3 separate regions of the Homo sapiens genome follow, and all the other regions are linked to region 2. The links are contacts of gene promoters, found by promoter capture Hi-C in blood cells and fetal thymus (Javierre and others, 2016). All regions are on one chromosome and are shown on one strand. The core of a region is centred on a gene start or on the middle of the fragment in contact, and the rest is flanking DNA. Distances in the headings are between cores, read along the strand shown. Region 1 overlaps KAZN (kazrin, periplakin interacting protein). Region 2 holds the start of TMEM51-AS2 (TMEM51 antisense RNA 2). Region 3 holds the start of CELA2A (chymotrypsin like elastase 2A).

Region 1 (3,736 bases), core at 1,004-3,503, 430 kb after region 2:
CCAGAGTAGCTGGGATTACAGGCACGTGTCACCACGCCCGGCTAATATTTGTATTTTTAGTTGAGACAGTTTCACCATGTTGGCCAGGCTGGTCTCGAACTCCTGACCTCAAGTGATCCTCCCACCTCAGCCTCCCAAAGTGCTGGGATTACAGGCATGAGCCACCACACCTGAACCTACTATGGACCTCTCTGATCCTGACCCCCATGGAACTCTCCCTACTCCTGGCCTCTTCATGCCTGCGACGCACCACTCTGGCCCACACACAGTGCAGCTCAGCTCTTCCTCCCATATTTCAAATCCACCAAAGCAAAGATCTCAAAGGCGGCACATCTTATGGGTCTATTCACTGGTGAGTGCAGGAGCATCTGTTTGACCAGACTCACTACCAGGTGCCAAGTGCAGTTACAGAGAGGAGGAAGTCTCCGTCTCTGAGCCGTGGGTGCTTGTACAATCCAGGCAGGCAAGACACACACTGAACCCTGGTGACTCCAGGGTCACTTCTACATCCCTGGCTCCTGCCACCATGGCTGTCCACAGGACAGGCTCAGCAAATGGGTTTTGAACTGTGCTCAACAGCTAAGACAGAAAGTGACAAAGCAATTCAAAAGCAAGAGTGTTTGCATCTTGCCAGATGGGGTGATTCAAAGAAACATCATTGGAGCTGACACTTCTTGGGAGTTTTGGTAGGCAGGGATATCACAACAAGCGAGAAAAAGCACAGGGAGAGAAACCTCCAGGCTTATTGTCCCAAGACTGCAGCACAGAGAGGCGAGATTGGTTATTGCTGGCGGATGAACTGACTCATTGGTTTTTTTTTCATTCGCTCATTCCTTCATTCATTCAAGCACGTACGCAAGAATGCACTTAGTTAATCCAACAAGTATTTATTCAGTGCCTGAGTCATCTCTGGCATATGGTAGTTGCTCAATGAATGAATAAGCTTCTATTTTGTGCCTGCTGTGCTCTTAAGTGGGAGGGACACATTCATGAATAACACAGACCTAGGCAGAGTCCTTGCCATCACAAAGCCTGCAATCTAGCAGCTTCTTCACAAATATTTATTCAGTGCCTACTATGAGCCAGGCCCTCTTCTAGATGCTGGGAACAGGCAGTGAACAGGACGGACAAGGTCACTGCTTTCCTGGAGCTGACATTATAGCAGTTGGAGAGGACCCCACTCACAGTTCCTCCTTTCGTTTGTTCTGTTCATCCAAAGTTGGAGGGAAGTGCTGTCCACACTGGGACAATTCCAAAGGGGGAGGAATCTTTGCTTGGGGATGGTTCTATTTTTCTGTATAGCCATTTCATAGTATCAAGAAGGTGAATGTGGCTTCCCACAAGGAAAATCCTAAACAAAACAAAAAACAACCCAAAAAAAAACAACCACAAGAGAGAAGCAACATTGAATTGGTTAACAGAAAGGGAATATTTGGATTCTGGCTCAAACATCAAGGTTGAGATGCATTTCAGGGCCCCTCATCAGTTTCTCATAAAACATGCCACCAGAATGGAATTTTATCAGAGTTTGCTATTGTTTAATATGCCTTGAAAGAGTTTTTGTCTTCAAGGGGCCATTCTGGAAAGCTGACACTTGAGTGGGGAGTGAGAACCTCTTGGCTATGAAGCTCAGCAGGTCTTGAAACCCCGGGGGGAAGTGCCCCTTCTCCCTCCCTCTCCTTTTCAGTTCAGCAAGTAGCTCAGCCTCATGTAAGAGAAAAATAAAAAGATACTAGTTCAATCAAAGTAAAACTGTCACACGCTATCCTGACCTTTTCAATATGTAAATAGTTGTGCTCTCAAATTTCAGGACCTGATGGGAGATTCTGACAGACATTCCCTTCCAGGAGGCCCAAGAGAAGAGGCTGGAACTGTTAGAACTCTAAAAGCCAACAAACCCAAGAAAAAAACTGTAGGTCTCTGGGTCTCCACATGCCCATGGGATTTGCCTGAGCTGAGGCAACCATAGCCACCTGTGCCACCAGCTGCCCCCTCCTCTAGCATCCTCATGCCCGACATTGAGCAACTGTGTGCTTCAGGCATGGTGCTGGGTGCTGGGGAGGCAAAGATGGTCAAGATAGAGTTCCTCTTCTGGATTATGTCACAGGGGAGAAAGACAAGTCCATTTATTCATGCACGCATTTAAAAGTGAAGCACCAATCATATTCAGGCCTCGGATGCAGAGCAAATAAACGACCCGCTCCAGCAACTTGGGACAAGTGCTTGGTCAGCACACAGGACCTCCATGGTAGCACAAGGGAGAGAGTGAGGGCATGATCCTGCCCCAGCTGCCTGGAGGCTGCACCCCCAGAGAAGCATGTTCAAAGCACAGAGCTCCTTCCCACTCCCCTCCAGGTCTGTGAACAGAGGGCAGGACCTGCCACCCCCACAGGCACCATGGAGGGAAAGTGTCTGTCATTCCCCAGGAAACGATAAAACTGAATTTCCAAATGCCCTGTTATTCCTACAGTTAGTAATTGGAATCCCCAAAGCCCAGCAAAGGTGGAATCTTTCCTGTTTGGGGGCTGGCAAGAAGGAGGGCTAAAGGAATTCCAGGCAAAGGAAGGAGAATGAACAAAGAGCAAGAAATCAAGAGACCCTCTTGATCCCAGGAATGGCCCAAGGTGCAGCTCAGAATCACAGCAGTAGAAACCTGAGATGGGAGTGCGGGCGGCCAGAGCGGGAGAGGTCTGTGGGGCTCAAACCACGCCAAGGAGACAGGAGCTATAGAGGGATTTAAAGAAGGAGAACCATACAATGTAATTCATTTTTTTGGGGGGGCGGAGGCAGAGGATAGGATGGAATTGGGGTGGGCGAGACTTTTAGCAAGGCAGCAGTTGGCAGCTGTCATAATCCAGAGAAGAGAAGTGGGCACATATAATAGTGAAGAGGAGACAAGGACCAAAGGTGCTAAAGGAAAAAGCATCATAGTTTGTGCATGGGACTGGATGTCAGGATGACATTTGACTGGAAGTCAAATTCCACTCCCTCCACCAAGTTTTCTCTGCATCGGTTTAGAGGCGTCCTGCCCAGAAACACAGCCTGTGCATCTGGGATTGCAGCTCCCCGCACAGCACGGTGTCTCTGGAGCTCTTACGTGTCATACCACGGTTGGTTCCCTGAGCTCCAGGGATGTCTAAGCCACAGCTGCCTGTGGAGGGACCAATTTGCCTCCTAGGGGCTGCAGGGTATTTGCCACAGCCCCAGCACACACTCGGCTTGGGTCTGATCCACAAAAACCCCGCTTTGCAAGGCAGATGGTCCCTTGTTGACTGCAGATGTATCCAGGTGCCTCCTAGAAAGGAAAGGACTCCTTCTTTCCCCCGTTCTCAACTGCTCAGCAAATGCCCCAATAAACCAGAGCCAAAAGGATTCAGGGTGACATTTCCCACTGAAGAATTGCTCTGAATCACGAAAATAATTCTCCTTTCTGCTTGTAGAAATCCCAGAGCAGATACAAACCCTCCTGAAGGGTGCAGATGAATTCCTCGCAGGCTCTCTGTTTGCACGTGGGCAGACAGATCAACATTTTTTTATTCTAAGTGAGGAAATTCGAAGCTTTCCACTTTTTTTGAATCCGTCATTCCTTTGGCTGGGCTGACTTGACCCGTTACCACAGTTAGTTCTCCAGTTTGAACTTCAAACAATACAAAAAAAAAAGGGGAAGTTGGTGGTGTGAAGACTTCTCGTCATGTGAAACGTCTTGAAAGCGTCCTCAAGTGAGAAAATGACATCC
Region 2 (3,837 bases), core at 989-3,488:
TTACCTAGTTAAGGTGACAACTAACGTCAAGGTGACAGACACAAAAAGAAATTCATAGAAACGTTCAGCATGTGGCAAAATGTCCAAGATTCCAGGTTGAAGAAAGGGTGTTTTTAGATAAACAGAACTAGAAGTTGAAAGGCTCTTCTTTGACAGATGAATTTTGTTTGTGTTTTTTTTTTTTTAGATGGAGTTTGTGAAATTTGCTTAAAGAAAAAATAAACAGATGATATTTATGTAAAACAATGCCTGGAATATGAACTGAGACTCTAAAGACTTTAAAGCAAGTCTAGTTTTCATGATGGCAGGAAAACAATCTGTGTTAAGAATACTATCAGGTTGGCCAGGCGCAGTAGCTCACGCCTGTAATCCCAGCACTTTGGGAGGCTGAGGTGGGTGGATCACTTGAGGTCAGGAGTTCGAGACCAGCCTGGCCAACATGGTGAAACCCCGTCTCTACTAAAAATACAAAAAATTAGCTGGGCGTGGTAGTGTGCGCTTGTAATCCCAGCTACTCGGAAGGCTGAGGCGGGAGAATCGCTTGAACCTGGGAGGCAGAGGTTGTAGTGAGCCGAGATTGCGCCACTGCACTCTAGCCTAGGCAAAAGAGCGAAACTCCGTTTCAAAAAAAAAAAAAAAAAAAAAAAGAATATGATCAGGTTAAACCCCAGATTCCTAAGCAGAAAGAGGAGATGCTGGGCCCATCTGACCTACTCCCTAGGCATGTCCAGGCACAACTATTAACTGGATTAAGCACAATAATATTTCACCTGCCAGAAGTTTATTACACATGGCCTCATTCGGTTCCCACAACCCTCCATGAAAAAGGTAGGCATTGAGCCCATTTAACAGCTGAGTACATATCCTCGGGGGATACGTTCCAAGACCCCCAGTGGATGCCTGAAACAACAGACAGCACCCGACCTTACACATAACGACGACGTTTTCTGATCTGATAACCCAGACCGCTCCTAAGTGACCAATGAGCAGGTAGTGTCGACAGCACCCATCTGCTGGACAAAGAGACGATTCACGTCTGGAGCAGGACAGAGTGGGACAGTGTGAGATTTCATCACACTACTCAGAATGGGATGCAATTTAAAACTTATGAATCATATCTTTCCGGAATTTTCCATTTAATATTTTCAGATTGTAGTTGGCTATGGGTAACTGAAACAGTGGAGAGTGAAATGATAGAAAAGGAGGAACTCTTGTAGACAATATAGGATCATAAAGGGTTAAGTCACTTGCTCAGGATCACAAAGCTGGCACGTGGTGGAACCAGAATTCTAACCCGTGGCTGTCTAGCCCCAGAGTTCACTTACTTTCTCTTTTCCTTTTTCTTCTGTCTCTGTCTCTCTCTCTCTCCTTCTTCTCTTTCTTTTTTCTTCTTTCTCTCTCTCCTTCCTTCCTTTCCATTCTTTTCTTTCCTCCCTCCCTCCTCCTTCCTTCCTTTTTTTTTTTTTTTTTTTTTGAGACAGGGTCTCACTCACTCTGTTGCCCAGGCTGGGGTGCAGTGGCACAATCTTGGCTCACTGCAGCCTTGACCTCCCAGGGTCAGGTGACCCTACCACCTCAGCCTTCCAAGTAGCTGGGACTACAGGCACGTGTCACCATGCTCCACTAATTTTGGTATTTTTTCTTTTTTGCAGAAATGGAGTTTTGCCATGTTGCCCAGGCTGGTCTTGCACTCCTGGGCTCAAGCGATCCACCTGCCTCAGCCTCCCAAAGTGCTGGGATTACAGGTGTGAGCCACTGTGCCTGGACAGAGTCCACTTTCTTTTCCATACTTCAGAAGTTTCAAACGTGGCTGGGTATGTTAATCAGCTAGAGAGCTTGTTTGAAAATCTGATTCCTGAGTCCCACTGCTGAAGTCTGACTCGGCAGGCCTGGGCTGGGGCCTGGAAATCTGCTTTTATTAAGTTCTCAGCTGATGATCTGAGCAAGGGGTTGTTGGGATGGACCACATCTGTTTCTGCTAGAAGGTCCTGTCAAGAGAGTCAGGGAACGCCCAGCAGAGCCCCAGAAACCACCTGTGGGTTCAAGGAGGAGGTTCCGCGGCAAGGACTGATTGATCAGCTGTGGTAGTTCCTGCTGTGCGGGCTTGGTTAAGCTGGAACTACTTTTCCCAGAATCCCCTTCTCTGACTGGTTCTGGGTTATAATTGGTCAAAAGAGGAATCTGTGGAAAGCTGGGAGATGGAAGTGAAGCAGCGACCATTACACTTTAGAGGTCATCATGATTGGATGAGGTGAGAGACAGCCCCGTGGGTTCCAGCACATTCGAGCCTGTCCTCCATTCTGCATCCAGCTCTTTCTCCTGACTGCTGGTCCTGTTAACCAACAGCAGCCCAGGCCCCCCCGCGGACACTTGGCTGGGGATGGACCAGACAACGGCTGGCTGTAGACTTCTCCACCAGTTTGCCCGTGTACCCAGGGCCAGGTGGCGATGCCCCTGGTCCCCGGCAACTCTTCCACCTTCCTTTCTGCCGCCCCCCCTATGAATGCATAAGAACTAATTCCTATAACAAACCCCTTATCTCATAGGTCATAGAAGTTTGGCTTCTCTCATTGACCTGGAAGGATGCCGTCATCCACTCTGACCTGCAAACCTTTTGATCTCAAACAGCGATCTTCCAGGCGTGGCCCCAAATCAACAGCATCAGCGTCACCCAGGAGCTGGTTAGAAATGCAAATCCTGGGGCCCCACTCAGACCTACTGAATCAGCAACTGGGGGTGGGGGATGTGGCGGGGGGTGGAGGAGGAGGGAGGACCCAGCAATCTATGTTTTAACAAGCCCCCCACCCCAGAGGATTCTAACACAAGCTGAAGATGGAGAACCACTCATGCAAGCATTTAGAAAACCTGCCTCTAGGGAGGCCGAGGCGGGCGGATCATGAGGTCAGGAGATCGAGACCATCCTGATTAACACGGTTAAACCCCGTCTCTACTAAAAATACAAAAAATTAGCCAGGCGTGGTGGAGGGCGCCTGTAGTCCCAGCTGCTTGGGAGGCTGAGGCAGGAGAATGGCATGAACCCGGGAGGCGGAGCTTGCAGTGAGCTGAGATCGCAACACTGCACTCCAGCCTGGGCGACAGAGGGAGACTCCGTCTCAAAAAAAGAAAACCTGCCTCCATTTCTGTTTGGGATGATGTAGTAGTTCTGGAAAAAAGACAGTGGCGATGGTCACACAGCACTGTAAATGTGCTTAATGTCCCAGAATTGTACACTTAAAAATGGTTAAAATAGGCCAGGTGTGGTGGTGACTCACGCCTATAATCCCAGCACTTTGGGAGCCTGAGGTGGGCAGATCACTTGAGCCTGGGAGTTTGATACCAGTCTGGGCAACATGGCAAAACCCCGTTTCTACCAAAAAATACAAAAATTAGCCGGGCGTGGTGGTGCGCACCTGTAATCCCAGCTACTCAGGAGGCTGAGGCAGGAGAATCGCTTGAAACTGGAAGGCGGAGGTTGCAGTGACTCCATCTCAAAAAAAAAAAAAGATAAAAAAAAACCCAGCAGTATCCCAGGCACCTAGCTTTACCTTGCCCTGCAGCAGAGGGCCGGGGGAGAGGAGGGAAAGGAGGAAGTTGGCTTGCTCATGGGTCTGTACTCCCAGGCATTCTGAGATAAAGCCCCACGACTCTCAGGTGTGTTTGGCTTGGATTTGGAATGGACTTACTAGAATGGAAAGATTTTCAAAAATAATTATGACAGTAACACCTAAAAATGTATTGAGCATGTACTGTTTTAAGTACATTTATAGTTGAATCTTCACAACATCCTAAAACTATTCTCCCCATTTCGAGAAAGTGAGCCATGGCTCAAGGTCACCC
Region 3 (3,865 bases), core at 874-3,373, 290 kb before region 2:
CGCAACCTGCGCCTCCCAGGTTCAAGCGATTCTTGTGCCTCAGCCTCCCAAGTAGCTGGGACTACAGGTGCCCGCCACCATGCCTGGCTAATTTTTGTATTTTTAGTAGAGGCAGAGTTTCACCATGTTGGCCAGGCTGGTCTCAAACTCCTGACCTCAGGTGATCCACCTGCCTCGGCCTGCCAAAGTGCTGGGATTACAGGCATGAGCCACCACGCCTGGCCTATCATTGACAGTCTCTTAATCAAGGAGCAGATGAATGAACGCTGGCCTCTCTAAACACAGTGACTGCTGCATGGGTCACTCTGAATGCTCAAGGCTAGTGGGCTGCTAGTTGCTCCTCCTACTTAAGGTAGAAACTCATCCTGATTCAGCTGGGTTTGCTCCCAAAGCAGTTTATATCAATTATGCTTGTAATAATGAAATTTGATTAAACATGTAACCAATGAAATATGAGTTCAGAAAGAGAGTCGTTATTTATATGGAAACAAAGTTAAATGCTTGGAAGAGACTGGATCACCATGACTCTTAAAAAATTGCTCTTGAAGTAGTGTCTGTGAGAAAATGGAAAGATTGGATGGGCTCATAACTCAGATTGCTTTGTGAACGTCTCAAAGTTACTGCTCTGCTTTAAAGAAACGGGTTTGTAGATAAGATATGGGGCATGGCTTATATGAAAAAGACAGTTAAGAACTCAAAAAATTGTTTACATAGTCTAAGATAAAATCTTTACTATATATATATGATTTAAAATAATTTCTTTATAACCAACTTTTCAATTACTCGGTCCCAATTACATCAGATAAATGAGATTTCACTATATTTGTTTATGTCAATGTAAACTTTACACATTTCTCTTAAAATCCCCACCATTAACACGTCTGAGTAATTTACACCTGTGCCCCACTTGGCAGTTTAGTCTTGATACCACTATGATTATATCAACTTAAGAAAACATTTTTTTCATTGGTAACATTGATTTGCCTGTGGTTAAAGATTAATCTGCGCAAATAGCACTGATTGGTTCCTTAAAGCAAGGAATGTTTGCATAGGTAGTCTTGAATGGTTCCTAGACTGATGGTACATTTGTAAACAAGCCTCTGATTGGTTAATAGAGTAATACTATATTTGCTGCCTATGGGCAGTGGGGAGGGGACAGCTCCTTACTGCAGCTGGAGGAGGCACCTCTCCCTCCACTCCCAAGGTTGGCCAAGGCCACAGAAATGTATCTTTTTTTTTTTTTTTGAGACAGAGTCTTGCTTTGTTGCCCAGGCTGGAGTACAGTGGTGCAATTTCAGCTCACTGCAACCTCTGCCTCCTGGGTTCAAGCGATCCTCCTGCCTAAGCCTCCCCAGTTGCTGGGATTACAGGCGTGTGCCACCACACCTGGCTACTTGTGTATTATTAGTAGAGGCAGGTTTCACCATGTTGGCCAGGCTGGTCTCAAACTCCTGACTTCAGGTGATCTGCCCACCACAGCCTCCCACAGTGCTGGGATAACAGGCATGAGCCACTGCGCCCAGCCGGAAATATATCTTATTGCTAAAGTTGCCTGTGCTGCTCTCTGAGTCCCATCAATACTCACTTTGCCAGCACAATAGACGCCATGGTGGAAGGGCAAAGGGGAGATGTAAAGGGAGTGGGGCAGGGACGGGGAGAAGTACAGTGTGGTCAACTCACCTGCCAGGGCCAGCTGTTGGGCCTCGCTTCTTCACCGCCAACCACCCTAGTCACATAAGGTGGGTAAGTGGGGTCCCCACAACTGAGGGCTGTGAAAAGAGAAAGGGTCTTGAGTCAGGAAGCAGCGACCCACACAATGTAAACTACACTTGCTGCGCATTCTGACCCCCCAAATAGAAAACCCTTGTTCTAGAAGGATCCCAAGAGGTCATAGAATCCTGCTCTTTGCTCCAATTCTTTGAAACTCCATTCCAATGTTCTTATGATTATAGGTCTGAATGCAGTAGGGGTTGGGTGGGGGCGAGAGGGGAGGACAGGAAGATCCCATTTCCAGCCCCACCAGGGCATGGGAAACCAGTGCCTCTGGGTAACAGGACTTACCTCCAGCCACCAAAGTGGACAGCAGCAGCGTCCTTATCATGGTGTGTCCGTGGGAGTTCTGTAAGCGTGGCCCTGGATAAGGCCCTGGTTTTATGAGCGGACTTATCAGTGAGAGATACAGTAAGAGCACGCAAGATGGGGTTTTCTCAAAGCCCAGTGGAAAAAAGAGCTGTGTCCAAATATTTTTTTTTTCCCATTTCCTCCCAAATGTCACCCTAGAAATACTTTGAAAAAGATGCCAAAGGTAGATATTGGAATATGGGTTCCATCTGTTTTGAAGAGATTATGTTGTGTGTTAGGGAAGGAAGAAAAATACTAATTGTTGGTGCTCGGAGTTGTTTTTTTTTTTGTTTGTTTGTTTTTGTTCCCCTCCCTGGGTAAGACTGAGGAGAGGAGTTGTGTTTTCTTTCTTTCTTTCTTTCTTTTTTCTTTCTGAGATGGAGTCTTGCTCTGTCACCCAGGCTGGAATGAAGTGGCGTGATCTCAGCTCACTGCAACCTCTGCCTCCTGGGTTCAAGCAATTCCCCTGCTTCAGCCTCCCTAGTAGTTGGGATTACAGGTGTGTGCCACCATTGCTGGCTAATTTTTGTATTTTTAGTAGAGACGGGGGGTCTCATCATGTTGGCCAGGCTGGTGTCGAACTCCTGGCCTCAAGTGATCTGCTCGCCTCGGCCTCCCAAAGTGCTAGGATTACAGGCTGAGCCACCATGCCCGGCCAGGAGTTGTGTTTTCAATGAAAAGATTAAGGTGGCATGCTGAGCCCACAGCATTCTAAGGCAGTATTTCTCAATGGGGCTGGTTCAGCCCACCAGGAGACGTTTGACAACATCTGGAGAGAATTTTGGTTGTCATGGCTGGGGTTGATGTAAATTGGCATCCAGTGGGCAGGGAGCAGAGAGCAGAGACGCTGCTAAACACCCGACAATGCACTGGGCAATAGGACTCGCCCTGCCCCAAATGTCAATGGTGCTGAGACTGAGAAAGCCTGTTCTAGGCCATACCAGGGGTTGCAATGTGACCTTGGCTGAGTCATGTAAGTCTCTAGACCCATCTGTGAAACAGGGAGAGAAACCCATGCCCAGTATTGTTTCACAACATTGTGGTAAGGATTTGTATAATGTGGGGAAGGTGCACATGTAGCAGAATTTGCATAATGCGGGGAAGGTGCACATGTAGCAGAAGGCAAGGCCGACATGCACAATTAGGATCTGGCCACTCTAATGATGGGGGGAAGCAGAACGCTGGCAGAGGAGGGCTTCATCTGGTGGATGAAAATGCACTTTACGGCCGGGCACGGTGGCTCACTCCTATAATCCCAGAACTTTGGGAGGCTGATGCGGGCAGACCACCTGAGGCCAGGAGTTCAAGACCAGCCTGGCCAACATGGTGAAACCCCGTCTCTACTAAAAATACAAAAATTAGTAGCGTGTGGGGCTGCATGCCTGTAGTCCCAGCTACTCAGGAGGCTGAGGCAGGATAACCTCTCGAACCTTGGAGGTGGAGGTTGCAGTGAGCTGAGATCGCACCACTGCACTTTAGTTTGGGCAACAGAGCAAGACTCCATCTCAAAAAAAAAAAAAAAAAAGACCAGCTCCACACTCTTAAGACTTGATATCAAGTGTTTTTTTTTTTTTTTTTTTTTTTTTTTTTTTTTTTTTTTTGAGACGGAGTCTCGCTCTGTCACTCAGGCTAGGGCGTAGTGGCGCGATCTCGGCTCACTGCTACCTCTGCTTCTCAAGTTCAAGTGATTCTTCTGCCTCAGCCTCCCTAGTAGCTGGGACTACAGGCACCGGCCACCACACCC

The links. The method cuts DNA at HindIII sites, captures the fragments that hold promoters and counts their contacts. A CHiCAGO score of 5 or more calls a contact.
Region 1: a fragment that was not itself captured here is called in contact with the fragment with the promoter of TMEM51-AS2 in region 2 in 1 of 17 cell types (M1 macrophages); the score reaches 7.4 in M1 macrophages.
Region 3: a contact is called between the fragment with the promoter of CELA2A here and the fragment with the promoter of TMEM51-AS2 in region 2, in 12 of 17 cell types (erythroblasts, activated CD4 T cells, monocytes and 9 more). The highest score is 13.0, in erythroblasts.

The regions. Positions count from the first base shown.
Region 1 is chr1:14,739,590-14,743,325 of GRCh38, reverse strand. The region is part of intron 1 of KAZN (kazrin, periplakin interacting protein); the gene reads right to left. Among named protein-coding and RNA genes, the nearest start is that of KAZN, 140 kb to the right of the region's middle. RefSeq lists enhancers at 102-685, 686-1,270. The HindIII fragment of the contact is 2,615 bases long and covers 946-3,560 here.
Region 2 is chr1:15,170,025-15,173,861 of GRCh38, reverse strand. TMEM51-AS2 (TMEM51 antisense RNA 2) reads left to right here and starts at 2,238. Exons shown (of 3, transcript NR_167931.1): 1 at 2,238-2,251; 2 at 2,547-2,681. All of the region lies in intron 1 of TMEM51 (transmembrane protein 51), which reads right to left. RefSeq lists an enhancer at 1,549-1,718. The HindIII fragment of the contact is 7,186 bases long and covers 1-3,837 here.
Region 3 is chr1:15,454,990-15,458,854 of GRCh38, reverse strand. CELA2A (chymotrypsin like elastase 2A) reads right to left here and starts at 2,123. Exons shown (of 8, transcript NM_033440.3): 1 at 2,062-2,123; 2 at 1,681-1,769. The coding sequence starts at 2,101. The HindIII fragment of the contact is 8,750 bases long and covers 1-3,865 here.